Linked DNA regions of Homo sapiens: all the other regions are linked to region 3. Evidence: promoter capture Hi-C in 16 types of primary human blood cells and fetal thymus (Javierre and others, 2016). All regions are on one chromosome and are shown on one strand. Each heading gives the region's core, a stretch centred on a gene start or on the middle of the fragment in contact. The rest is flanking DNA. Distances are from core to core; before and after follow the strand shown.

The links. Contacts are between HindIII fragments. The CHiCAGO score rates a contact against its expected background, and 5 or more counts as called.
Region 1: a contact is called between a fragment that was not itself captured here and the fragment with the promoter of FTX in region 3, in 1 of 17 cell types (neutrophils). The highest score is 5.9, in neutrophils.
Region 2: a fragment that was not itself captured here is called in contact with the fragment with the promoter of FTX in region 3 in 3 of 17 cell types (fetal thymus, total B cells and activated CD4 T cells); the score reaches 11.9 in fetal thymus.

Annotation. Positions count from the first base shown.
Region 1 is chrX:77,900,696-77,905,149 of GRCh38, forward strand. It overlaps COX7B (cytochrome c oxidase subunit 7B), which reads left to right. Exons shown (of 3, transcript NM_001866.3): 2 at 1,948-2,072. Among named protein-coding and RNA genes, the nearest start is that of COX7B, 3.5 kb to the left of the region's middle. The HindIII fragment of the contact is 3,945 bases long and covers 778-4,454 here.
Region 2 is chrX:70,129,954-70,134,483 of GRCh38, forward strand. It overlaps IGBP1 (immunoglobulin binding protein 1), which reads left to right and starts at 3,494. Exons shown (of 7, transcript NM_001551.3): 1 at 3,494-3,587; 2 at 3,770-4,182. The coding sequence starts at 3,995. RefSeq lists an enhancer at 3,913-4,372. The HindIII fragment of the contact is 408 bases long and covers 2,105-2,512 here.
Region 3 is chrX:74,291,941-74,296,155 of GRCh38, forward strand. FTX (FTX transcript, XIST regulator) reads right to left here and starts at 1,634. Exons shown (of 7, transcript NR_028379.1): 1 at 1,412-1,634. It overlaps LOC124905199 (a long non-coding RNA gene), which reads right to left and starts at 656. Exons shown (of 2, transcript XR_007068266.1): 1 at 1-656. RefSeq lists an enhancer at 98-888. The HindIII fragment of the contact is 8,135 bases long and covers 729-4,215 here.

The sequences.
Region 1 (4,454 bases), core at 1,500-3,999, 3.6 Mb after region 3:
TAGCTGGACTATTTTCATATTCCCAAAGTAGCATTTATTATCTCTTTTACTTTGGGCATATGATTTAGCCTCTCTCAACCTCAGTTTCCTTCTTTGTAAAATAAGTAATTTGTAAATAATGCCTACTTCATGGGGTTGTTGAGGATTATATGAGATCACCAATGTGTGGTAATTAAACAGTTGTCACAGAGGAGAGGTCTGATGAAATCCACCAGAGTTACATGAGTGTGTTGAAGTTATGAGATGTTGCAGAATTTTTTGGTAGTCTTAATTTCTTTGCTCTTTGAGCAAATAGGGCCACCTTGTACCTCAGGAAAGGTTTTTTGTTTTTTTTTCAGCGTGGAATTCACATGCCCACTTTTTATCTTTTCTGGAGCAGAATATATTATGAAATATTTGTAAATTTGCCTATCCCGGTGTGACTAAAAGATGAAAAGGGAAAGCTATGTAAGACAGTTAGAAGATCTGATAATGGTCTAATAACTATCATGAAGTAACCCATTGTACCATGTAGAAATATTCATTGCTAGTGAATGGGCAACATTGCAGTTTCTTTTTTTTTTTTTTGAGACAAAGTTTCGCTCTTGTTGCCCAGGCTGGAGTGCAGTGGCTCAATCTTGGTTCACTGCAATCTCCGTCTCCTAGGTTCAAGTGATTCTCCTGCCTCAGGCTCCCTAGCTTTTCATTATATATGTAAGTACCTTTGGAGGCTCTTTAAAACGATAAGAACCTGCCCCTTAAATTGGACAGGAAGAAAAAAAAAAACAGCTAGAAACAAGCTTTTTCCAGTCTCGGCTGTTTCCCAAGCCCTCCTTTTTAGTTCTTCCAGGGGCCGTTTGAAAACTTTTGTTCTTCTCTTTCTACTGGTATAATACTAACAGCAAACTTTATCATTCTGCTCAAAAACTAAGTCCTTAGCTAATTCTGCTTCCTTGTACGATACTGATTTTTATCTACATGTGTAATCCTCTAGACTGGAAGTTACTTGAGGACAGGATCTCTGTCTTATACTTTTTTATATACCCCATTTCTCATTTTTTATTTTTAGGGACAGAGAATTGCTCTGTTACCCAGGCTGGAGTGTAGTGGTGTGATCATAGCTCACTGCATCCTCTAACTCCTGGACTCAAGTGATCGTCCGGCCACAGCCTCCTGAGTAGCTGGGACTACAGGTGTGCATGCACCACCATGCCCGGCTAATTTTTAATTTTCAATTTTTTTGTAGAGACAGGGTCTCACTATGTTTCACAGACTGGTCTGAAACTCCTGGCCTCAAGCGATCCTCCTACCTTGGCCTCCGAAAGTATTGGGATTACAGATGTGAGCCACTGTGCCTGGCCCATTAATTTTTTAAAAATCAAGATTACTCTAGTTGTGGCGAGTTTTTTTGTTACTGTAGTAATTTTACAGTCATAAGCATTTAGTGTGCTTTAATTTGAAGTTCATTTGAGTTCATTTGCCCTTGTATGTTGTAAGTTGTTGGGCTCTATTGAGTAAACTTTAATGAAAATTTAAGTCATAAGTATTCAAATTAATCAATGGGAGCCAAAATTTCAGGGGTTATGCAAATACCACTTTGTAGAGAATGTTACTGACATCATTCATTCTTTGCTTTTTTCCCCCAACACTATTATGAAAACTCTCAGACATACTGAAGAGTTGGAAGAATCGTATGAACACCCATATACCCACCACAAAGATTCTACAGTTAACATTTTGCTATTTGTTTTATCATGTATTTGTCCATCTGTCAATTCATCTTATTTTTGTTGCATTTCAAAGTACACTGCTTTAATAGCTACAATATGTTTTAACATTTTATTGAACTACATAATACTGTAAAATTAACTTCCTTGGCTTTCCTGATTGGCAGTATCAATCACATATGTTTTCTTTACCTGACAATTGATAATATGCTTCTGTATTCTTTTTTCGTTTTCCTGTAAGTTCGAAGCATTCAGCAAACAATGGCAAGGCAGAGCCACCAGAAACGTACACCTGATTTTCATGACAAATACGGTAATGCTGTATTAGCTAGTGGAGCCACTTTCTGTATTGTTACATGGACATATGTAAGTACTATTGATTAATAATTTCTGTTTCAGATGTTTTTCATTCTCAGTCTATGCATTCAAAGTGTCTTAACATAGTAGTGTACATATCTAGTTAGGAGGGACTTGAGAGATTGTGTAATCTAATTACCCACACAGTGCAGGGGATTTTTTCCCCCCAGCATTCATCCATCTTCTGTTCTTAACATTCCCAGTAATAAATTGCTTACTGGATCACAAGGCAGCCCTTTCCATCTTGTGTAGCTGTTTTTTTTGTTTTTGTTTTTTTTTTTTTTTAAGAAGAAGTCTTGCTGTGTCCCCCAGGCTGGAGTGCAGTGGTGCGATCTTGGCTCACTGCAACCTCTGCCTCCTGGGTTCAAGCACTTCTTCTGCCTCAGGCTCCCAAGTAGCTGGGACCACAGGTGTGTGCCACCAGGCCTGGCTATTTTTTTTTTTTTTTTTTTTTGAGACGGAGTCTTGCTCTGTTGCCCAGGCTGGAGTGCAGTGGCGCGATCTCGGCTCACTGCAACCTCTGCCTCCTGGGTTCAAGTGATTCTCCTGTCTCAGCCTCCCAGGTAGCGGGATTACAGGCGCCCTCCAGTACGCCTGGCAGATTTTTGTATTTTTAGTAGAGACGGGGTTTCACCATGTTAGTTAGGCTGGTCTTGAACTCCTGACCTCAGGTGATCCGCCCGCCTTGGTTTCCCAAAGTGCTAGGATTACAGGTGTGAGCCACTGTGCCCAGCCTTGTGTAGCTGTTAAAAGGATCATATGGTGAGTTAAAATCTGCCTTTTTCCTATGCTACCCATTGTTCATTGAAGCACAGAAATTCTGACCCACTTCCATATAACAGCCATCAGATAATAGAAAATTGCTATCATATCTCCTCAATTTTCTTTTTCAAATTAAACATCCTTAGTTCTATCAGTAATTTTTTTGTTCATGGTTTCCAGGATTTTTACTGTCTTGGATCGCCTTCCTGGACATAACTTCACTTAACAATTTTTCTTTTAAAATTTTACACTCAGAACTTAGCACAGTATTCGTGACAGATGAGATGTAATGTATCTTTTTATATTTTAGTTTCTTTACATCTTACATTTAACAATCTATCTTTCAGTCACTGTTACTTACTGGCTAAAAGTAGGAGTCCTGAAGTCTGTGTTTTTTTTTTTTGTTTTGTTTTTTGTTTTTTTTTTTTTTGAGATGGAATCTTGCTCTGTCGCCCAGGCTGGAGTGCAGTGGCGCGATCTCTGCTCACTGCAAACTCCGCCTCCCGGGTTCACGCCATCCTCCTGCCTCAGCCTTCCGAGTAGCTGGGACTACAGGTGCCCACCACCATGCCCGGCTAATTTTTTGTATTTTTAGTAGAGATGGGGTTTCACCGTGTTAGCCAGGATGGTCTCGATCTCCTGACCTCGTGATCCACCCACCTCGGCCTCCCAAAGTGCTGGGATTACAAGCGTGAGCCACTGCGCCCGGCCCGAAGTCTTAATAAATGCATAAGTTGGTTTAAAAAGATACAAATTAATCCTTAATGTAATAAACTTTATTTAAATAAATAGGCCTTTTTAGTTTTTGTTTTGATCTTCCTGAAATCAAATATTAAGATGTGTGCCTAGGCTGGGCATGGTGGCTCACGCCTGTAGTCCTAGCACTTTGGGAGGCCCTGGCGGGTGGATCACCTGAGGTCAGGAGTTTGGTACTAGCATGGTGAAACCCCATCTCTACTAAAAATACAAAAATTAGCCGGGCGTGGTGGTGGGCACCTGTAGTCCCAGCTACTTGGGAGGCTGAGGCAGGAGAATCGCCTGAAGTTGGAGGGGGTGGAGGTTGCAGTGAGTTGAGATCGTGCCACTGTACTCTAGCCTGGGCGATAAAGCGAGACTGTCTCAAAAAAAAAAAAAGTCTCAAAAAAAAAATTAAAGTGTGCTTAATTAGAAGGATAAACAGATGTTGAACAAATGTTTGATCAGAGGAGCTTTTGGAGGTGAAATGTTCCTTAGTGATACAGAGAATATAAAATACTCTGGCAGTTACTTAGGTAGTTGTGGTTGAGGGAATCAGTGTATTGAGTGGGTAGTATAGAAATGTGAAGTATAAATTTGAATTAAATAAAATTTAAAAATTCATTTCCTTGGTGATACTAGTCATATTCCAGGTGGCTAGTAGCCACATGTAGCTAGTGACTACTGTTTTTAACAGTGAAGATCTAGAACATTTCCTTCAGCTCAAGAAGTTCTATTGAACAACAGGACTGCTCTAGAAAATTAGGACAGCAATCAGGTTTGGCCTATATGGAGGGTATTAGATCCCAGGTGAGTTTCTGTGTATTTTTAACCTATAGAACAGAATATCTGTCATTTTCAAGAAATAGTCTCCGAGAGAGTGTACTCTGGTTT
Region 2 (4,530 bases), core at 1,059-3,558, 4.2 Mb before region 3:
GATAAAGATAACCACAGTACAGTACTATCACAGGGGGATGAATCAAATGCTATAAGAGCTAAGAAGGAGGTAGCCTCGCCTACAGGGGAAAATCAGGAAGTGCTTCCCAGAGCAAGTGATCTTTGAGCCAAGTTATGAGTAATGAATAGAAATTTGCCAGGCACAGACAAGGAAGATGACATTCCAGGCAGAAGGTACCACCTATGTGAATGCATGAAGGCCTAAGAGAACATGATAGGTTTGGAGAACTAGGAGAGTTTGCTAAAGATTCAGCTTAGGATCCACGAAGGAACAAAATGAAAAGGATGTCAGCAGGCAGATTAGAAAGGATCTTAAAGTCATGTTATTGAGTTTGACCTTTAACAGAATGCCCCTCCGGGCCAAAGTTATTCTCTCCATTCCTCTAACACCTTGAACACACCTTTATCAAAATATTTATCAAATTAACATTTGATTATTTGTTTACCTGTCTCTTCCGTGGAACTATGGACCCCTTAAGAGCTTAAACCTCGGGTAGTGTTCGAATTCTCAATGCCTAGCATTCAGGTAGCACACAGCATGTATGGAAAGAGCAAAGGAAGGAATTTCTCCAAGGTCCCACAGCTATTCAGTAGCAGAGTTGGGCTAAAGGGATCCTCCCACCTCAGCCTCCCAAAGTGTTGGGATTACAGGCGGGAGCCACTGCACCTGGCCAGATTAATGCTTTTTATATTGTGTTACTTAGAGCCCTTGAGTCCCTCACCTGGAGTGCCACTCACTGAGCAGGTTGAGGAAGATGGGCCAGTGGCTGAGTTGGCAGGCTTCTTTGTATCCTCTTCAAATACATCAGTCCTTTTAGAAATTACAGGCTCTCTAAAACTTGTTTTGGAAAAAGAATTATGCTACTACAAAAAGTTTAAGTACCGTTATACTTTCATGATTGTTAAGTGCCCTAAACTAGGATTTTAAAAAGTCTCCCATGCACAACAGGAGTTTAATATGATAAAGTGTTTACACACAAAACACAGCAAACGACTCGTTTTTATTATTCCTTTTTTTCTTTCTTTTTTGTGAGACAGAGTCTCGCTCTGTCGCCCAGGCTGGAGTGCAGTGGTGTGATCTCGGCTCGCTGCAGCCTCTGCCTCCCGGCTCACTGCCTCAGCCTCCGGAGTAGCTGGGGTTACAGGCCCGCGCCACCATGCCCAGCTAATTTTTGTATGTTTAGTAGAGACAGGGTTTCACCATGTTGGCCAGGCTGGTCTTGAACTCCTGACCTCAGGTGAGCTGCCCACCTCGGCCTCCCAAAGTGCTGGGATCACAGGCATGAGCCACCACGCCCGGCCATTATTCCTTTTTTTCTAACCACTTTTTAATCTTGGTATTCTTTCAGAATAAGATGAAATGCAATGCTTAAAATGACAACTCTAATATATAACAGGCACTCTGAAAGTAATTGGCATCTCCCATAAAGACCGTCATTTTGGCTGGGCACACTGAATCACGTCTGTAATCCCAACACTTTGGGACGGTGAAGCGGGTGGATCACTTGACCTCAGGAGTTTGAGATCAGCCTGGGCAACATGGCGAAACCCCGCCTCTACAAAAAAATACAAAAATTAGCCAGGAGTGGTGACTTGCACCTGTAGTCCCAGCTAATTGGGGGGCTTGAGGGTAGAGGATCACTTGAGTCCAGGAGGCGGAGTTTGCAGTGAGCTAAGATCGTGCCAATGCATTCCAGCACTCCAGCCTGGGTGGCAGAGTGAGACCCTGTCTCAAAAAAAAAAAAAAAAAAAGACTAATTTTGAAAGCCATAAAAAATGACTTACAAAGTTTAAGACCAAATTAAGACTGTGCACATTTTTTTCCTCTTAAGTAACAGTAAAGACATGTTTTAATCCAAGCAAATGCAGAGAAGCAAATTATCTTTACTCTCACAATTACTACATTTCTAAGTCTCCTCCACAAGTACTATCTTTTTCTTTATATTCCCTGCCAAGCCTGACCCTGAAAGGTCAGTTTACTAGAGGTGCCAGATAAACCAAATAGGTAATTCGCCAAAGCCTCACTTCCTTCTTAGTTTATAAAGCAGGGGTTGCAAGGGAAGGTTTATTAGAATCACCTGGGAAGCTTTTTCAACCTACATGTGTGCCACAGCCTCCTCTCCCTCTTAGGAAGCACTGTTCTAGTTTGGGGCTTCAATCTGTCCCACATTAAAGGTCTTCATCTTTCTAAATCCTACCCAACTGAAGGTTAATGGAGTAGAAACAATTGAACGCAGAAGTCACTGACTTTGTCACAAACTGGCTGGACAAGTCCCTTAACCTTTCTGGTCTCAAGTTTTTCCTCCGATTTTGGGGGTTCCCTTTAAACTTTGACATTCTTCTATGTGACCGCATGTCATGTCTAAGAAGCCTTCTGAACTACTCCTAGCATGGGATGACTTGCCCTTTCTTGCTTTTCCAACAGCCTGTGCAATACAACATATCACCTATTTTATACTGTCCTATATTGCCCTCTAGTTGTTTTTTAATGAAGCTTTTTTTCTTCTCAACGATATGTAGTTTAAAATACTAGTTTAAAAGTTTATTTTCAGGGGTAGACAGTGTGCCTGCTACTTAAATCTCCTAGGACAATTCAGGCTGCGTCCTAAGGTAATCAGTATGTATTTATATTGCTTTGTTCAAAACAATGACGTCCCTTCTTTGAAGTCCTGAAATTATGTTTTCCATCAGTTCTGTCCAGTAGAAATATAATGGGAGCTACAAATATAGTTTTAAATTATCTGGCAGGCACATTTACAAAGTGAAAAGAAAGAAGTACAATTAATTCTAATAATATATTTAATCCAACATATCCAAAAGACTATCATTTCAACATGTAGTCCATGTAAAAAGTATTTACATTTTTCATTCTTTTTTTTTTAAATGTCTTTGAAATCTGGGGTGTTTTTTACACTTGCAGCACATCTCGATTCAAAATAGCCACTTTCAAGTGCTTAGTAACCACATGTAGCTAGTAACTACCTACTGAACAATGCTGTTCTGCATAAGTTGGCTGCTTTCCAAACTGATCACTTTTTTTTTTTATTCAGATAATGACTGATACTGAGTACTCAGGCTAGCCAGAGTGGTGCAAAGATGAGTCAAATTCATTCTGATAAGAGAGATTTGTAAGTCACTAGCAATTATACAGCGTGGTAGGTGCCATGATAGAGATGCATAGGAGAAACCCAGACTTGGCGGCTGAAGGGCACAGGGTGGAAGGCGGTAGAGAGACAAGGAAGGTTGCACAGAAATAACATTTGATGTAGGAACTAAGTGCACGAAGGGAAGCCGGCTGTGCGGTGACCGGAGTTGCAGGTTGCCAATCTTGCTGAGGGGGGCTCCACCGGACGCCGGCCTACGGGTCGTAGGCGTGTGTGGGGTGAAGGGGGAAGAGGACGGGAGAGGATTGGCTGGGAGGAACCCGGAGCTCCATCTGGTGGGTGGACGGAAACCGCAGGGGGGCGCTACTTGCACTTCGCGCTCAAGCGACCGGATCTTCAAACCGTGGGAGTGGTGCGGCGGCTAGAGTCCCTGGACTCCTCAACCTAGGGAGCTACTCGCGAGGTAAGGGGCGCGCCAGACTGGCTCCTAAAACGCACTCGCTCGTCCGCACTCCTCGCGCTCCGAATTCAGCCTCGCCTCACCCGGGCTTCAGAGCCCACAGAACTTCTCAGCCCCGTGTCGGCGACGAGGAGCTCATGGTAAAACAGCGCCTAGGGTTTTGCTTGTTTGTTTGCTTTTAACAGATGCCTACGACTTGTAACGGGCTGCCTGGTAAAATGAGTCTATGGAAACGGTTGCCAGGGCCGGCTAACAGCGGCTCCCGGAAGTCCTTTGATGCTTTGTTAACAGTGAAGCTACTGGACCAATGAGGTGCTTCTTCCGGTTTTGTCCGCGCTCGCCTAATTCTTCTTTATCAAGGTTGCCTTTGACCCCGGAAAAGAGATCTTCCGGGTTCCTCTCTCCCCAAGATGGCTGCTGAGGACGAGTTACAGCTGCCGCGGCTCCCCGAGCTGTTCGAAACTGGTAGACAGTTACTGGACGAAGTAGAAGTGGCGACTGAACCCGCCGGTTCCCGGATAGTCCAGGAGAAGGTGTTCAAGGGCTTGGACCTCCTTGAGAAGGCTGCCGAAATGTTATCGCAGCTCGACTTGTTCAGGTATGGGGGAAGATAGTAATAATGGCTGAGAACGAAGGTAATAATGGTTACCAAGGGTGGAGCCATTGCGCCTGAGTGGAGGGGACCTTTAGTGGTGAGAACGTTTCGTTCCTACTTACCACTGCGATCTTGTGTACATTGTTTACATTCCCCACCTCTCTTCCCAGATGGTTGATATCTTACGACTCTGCTTCCTAGCGTCTGCTGATTGCATAGGCATTGGGTGTGAGCCCTCAGCCACTTTCATTGAGTGAAACTGGCCGCTGTTCCCCGTGCCTCCTCCCTCTGGTCCACTCCCAGCCCAGCCTCCCACTCCGTCCCCCAGAAAGCAAGGGCCACAATTTGAAT
Region 3 (4,215 bases), core at 384-2,883:
TTGGATTCTCACACTACAACCACAGTGTTTTGCTACTCTGATGGGGTGACTGTATTCAGAGCCAAGTACAGCGACCCAAGATCGGAAAGCCAGAGAGCCCTCCGAATGCGTACTGCCCAAATGTGGCCTGTCTCCAAGTGCTCCCTTTTTACGCATTTCCTACGCACCGCCAGCTGCCGCAACCTTTTGCAGAGTCATCATCGCCTCCTCATTTTTGTACCCACTTACCGATAGGCCACTGAGAGGCTAAGATTCTGGGTTAATTTCTAGTGGATCTGGCCACAGCATAGGAGAACTCCAACTCAGGTTGATCCCTTCACTCAGCTAAAAAGGTAGTTCTCTGCAAGGCCTGCTAGCCCAAGATGGCCAAGCAAAGACAGCTTACCTCCCCCCTCGCCATTTTGCAACCTTAATTACCCGAATGCTGAGCGCCTCCCCTCCCCGGCACTCCGTCTGAAATACGCATGCGCGCCGCTTCCTCCTTACCGTTCTCCCCAACCATCCAGATGTTGTCTCAAATATGCATGAGCGCCACCTCTACCTCCCAAACGCTGGTACCAACTCCTAGCAACTTTGCGTTGTTAAATATGCCTGCGAGTCCTTCACTTCCCGACCTTCCAACCCTCCAACCCCGACGCCATTCAAGCCTTGCGCATGCGTGCCTCCCTCTCCCCACCCCCGCCCCACTGGAGCCCGTCCCCTTAACTCAGGTCTTCTCAAATACTGTAAGCTTGAGCGCCGCCCCTCGGCGCCGCGCCTCCTCATCCAGCCTCTCAAATACCCTGCGCACCGCGATAGTCCTCTCTCTTCTTGCTCCCATTTGTATACAGTATGCATGCCTGATGCTATCTGGACGTGTTTCTCGCCACAATTCTGCCCCAGTGCCCAAGGAGAGCCATTACCAGCCTTCCCTAATGCGAGTAGATGCGATAAACTAGGGAAGTTGAATCGGGGAAAGAAGGCGTTGCAGGTGATCAGAGTGAATCCCAGATCTAGATGGAATCGGTCCCAACTCCAAGGGAGGGGGCTAGAGTACCCCAGGATTCACATAAGACCGGTCAACCTGAACAAAGGCAAGGAAAACTTTCACAAACCATCGGATGAACATAATCCTAAGGCCTCGCCCTTTAAATACATCTGCTACAAATGACGAACCACAAATGTTTTAAACAGGGAACATTATGGAAAACACCGATGCTCAGGTGCCTTGACTCTAGTTAGAGGAAAGGAACCCGCATTCCTTTCACAATGGGAAGCAAATGCTCAACATCCTTTTGGAAAACTGGGGCCTGTAACGTATTCCATTTTTTCCTCCCGTGAACTGGAAAAATGCACAAATTAAGGATCTTCCTGGCCCAAGTTCCCTCCGCCGCCCTCCATGTTCTGTTCTTCCCCTACATCGTTCCTTTACCTCCTGGTTGAATTCAGTGTCGTAGCAGGAATTCTTAGAGCTGGCCGTCCCAAGATGGGGTGGAGAGAGCGGCATGAAAGAGAGAGAGAGAGAGAGACACGCCTGAATGGCAGCAGCAGGCCTTAGCGGCAATGGACAGCAGGCACAGGACCAGCTTTGCCTCGAGCCGCAACGCTGATGCCAGAAAAGGACAACCTCTCCAGAATCGCCGCAGTGTGCTTCCAGCGCATGCGCTGCTAACGCCCCTTAACCCCCCCTCCGCGCCCCGCCTCCCCCACGCGCCGCTCTCCAGCCTCTAGGAGTCTAACCCTTAGCGGTCCACCGACCTCCTTCACTTCTTTCCCAGGACGCTATCCCACTCTGCTTCTTCCACCTTTCCCCTCCCCTCGGTCACACTGGCCTCCACCATCATCCCTCCCTCAGCCCATACTTCTTTCGTCAATCCCTCTCCCATTATTCTTAGCCCACCATCTACCTTTATTTCCTCTGCTATCGTTAGTGGTCTACCCTTCAATTCTTCACTTTCCCTGCCAGTCTGCAGCCCTCTTGGGCCTCTTACTCCTCTCCTCCTATGCCTGATGTTGAAATTTGTAAAAATTACCGCAAAAATTTTTTTTTAAATAATTGTAGCCCGGGCGCGGTGGCTCACACCTGTAATCCCAGCACTTTGGGAGGCCGAGGTGGACGGAACCCTTGAGTTCAGGAGTTCGAGACCAGCTCGGGTGACATGGCGAAACCCCGTCTCTACAAATAAATACAAAAATTAGCCGGGCGTGGTGGTGCGCACCTGTACTCCCAGCTATTCAGAAGGCTGAGGTGGAAGAATCACTCGAGCCCAGGAAGTCGAGGCTACAGTGAGCTATGATTGTGCCAGCTATGATGTTGCCAGCCTGGGCAACAGAGTGAGACCCCATCTCAAAAAAAGAAAAAAAATATTTCCACACATCCTCTCCAAAGCAGCTCTCAGGGTGAGCTCAACCAGCCTGTCTTGGGCAAAGAGAACACCTTTTTGATGATGACCCACAGGGAAGATCCAGAGACAGGGAACCAGAACAAAAACTGCAAAAGTGTTCAATCAATTTGGGGGTAAGAGGCAGTAGACCACCAACATGGAAAGCTCTTTTCTTTCTATTCACAACCCTGGTATTGTCTGGACATTAAAAATGAGATTCAATGTCCTTCACTGCTTACTACAAGGCCTGTTCTTGTCTTCTGTAAGAACTCAAATATTAATTTTGAGGGAAATGGCATTATTTACTTAAGAGGCTCTGAAATAGATCCCTCTTTGGGTGTGAACTAGAAAGAATACAAAATAATATTTTGTTTCTCTTTATTATGTTTTACTTTGGTGTCTGGTTCTTATTGCTTTCTAAAAGAGCCAGTTTGGAAATACCAAAAACTGAGACCCGCAAATTCATAAATCCTAAAACTCATAAACTTATACATCACCATCCTCTCAAATTAACTTAAGAATGTTATATCAACATTATTCAGAGAAAAATGGGTTTGCATTTGTTATATAATACGCCCAAAAAATTATACAACAATGTGCATATGAAGAAGAAAAAAGAGAAATAGGCATGCATTAAATAAAAAAGAAATGCCGAAATCTCAGTGGTACAAAGAACCTCTTCTAAATTAAAATAATCATTTATTATTACACAAAAGTTAAAATATAAGAAATTTTACCCCAAATTCTACAACACTATTTTAACAAATGCTCTTATCTCTGTTATTTTTCTGTTTTAATGGTTTTATTAATATATAATTTACATATCATACAGTTAACCAACTTAAAGTGTACAATGCAATGGATTTTAGTATATTCACAGAATTATGCAGCCACCACTACAATCAATTTTAGAATATTTTCATCACCCCAAAAAGAAACTTCATACCCATTAGTATTGTCTTAGTCCATTATGTACCACTGTAACAAAATACTGCAGACTCGGCAATTTATAAAGAACAGAAATTTATTTCCTCACAGTTCTGGAGAATGGGAAGTCCAAGACTGAGGAGCTGGCATCTGACAGTGGCTTTCCTGCTACATCATCCCATGGTGGAAGGGCAAAGAGATAGAGAAAGAGAGAGTGCGCGCAAGAGGGGGCCAGAACTCATCCTTTAATAAGGAACCCACTACTGAAATAACAAACCCACTCCCTCAATAATAGCATTAAGCTATTCATAAGAGTGGTGCCCCCATGACTCAAACACCTCCCTTTAAGCCTCACCTCCCAACACCACCACATGGGGCATCAAATTTCCAACATATGAACTTTGAGAGACATATTCAAACCATAGCAAGCATCTTTGTGTTCTCTTATGATTTTTGTTCAAATATATAATGTTTTGGCTGGGCGTGGTGGCTCATGCCTGTAATCCCAGCACTTTGGGAGGCCAATGCAGGAAGATTGCCTGAGACCACAAGTTCGAAACCAGCCTTGGCAACATAGCAATACCCTGTCTCTATTTAAAAAAAAAAAAAAAAAGAGGTGGGGGCCAAGCACAGTGGCTCGCACCTGTAATCCCAGTACTTTGGGAAGCCAAGGCAGGCAGATCAGTTAAGGTCAGGAGTTCAAGACCAGCCTGGCCAACATGGTGAAACCCCGTCTCTACTAAACATGCAAAAATTAGCTGGGCGTGGTGGCGGGCACCTGTAATCCCAGCTACTCGGGAGGCTGAGGCAGCTGACTCGCTTGAACCTGGGAGGCAGAGGTTATAGTAAGCCGAGATCATGCCACTGCCCTCCAGCCTGGGTGATAGAGTGAAACTCCATCTCAAAAAAAAAAAAAAAGGAAAGA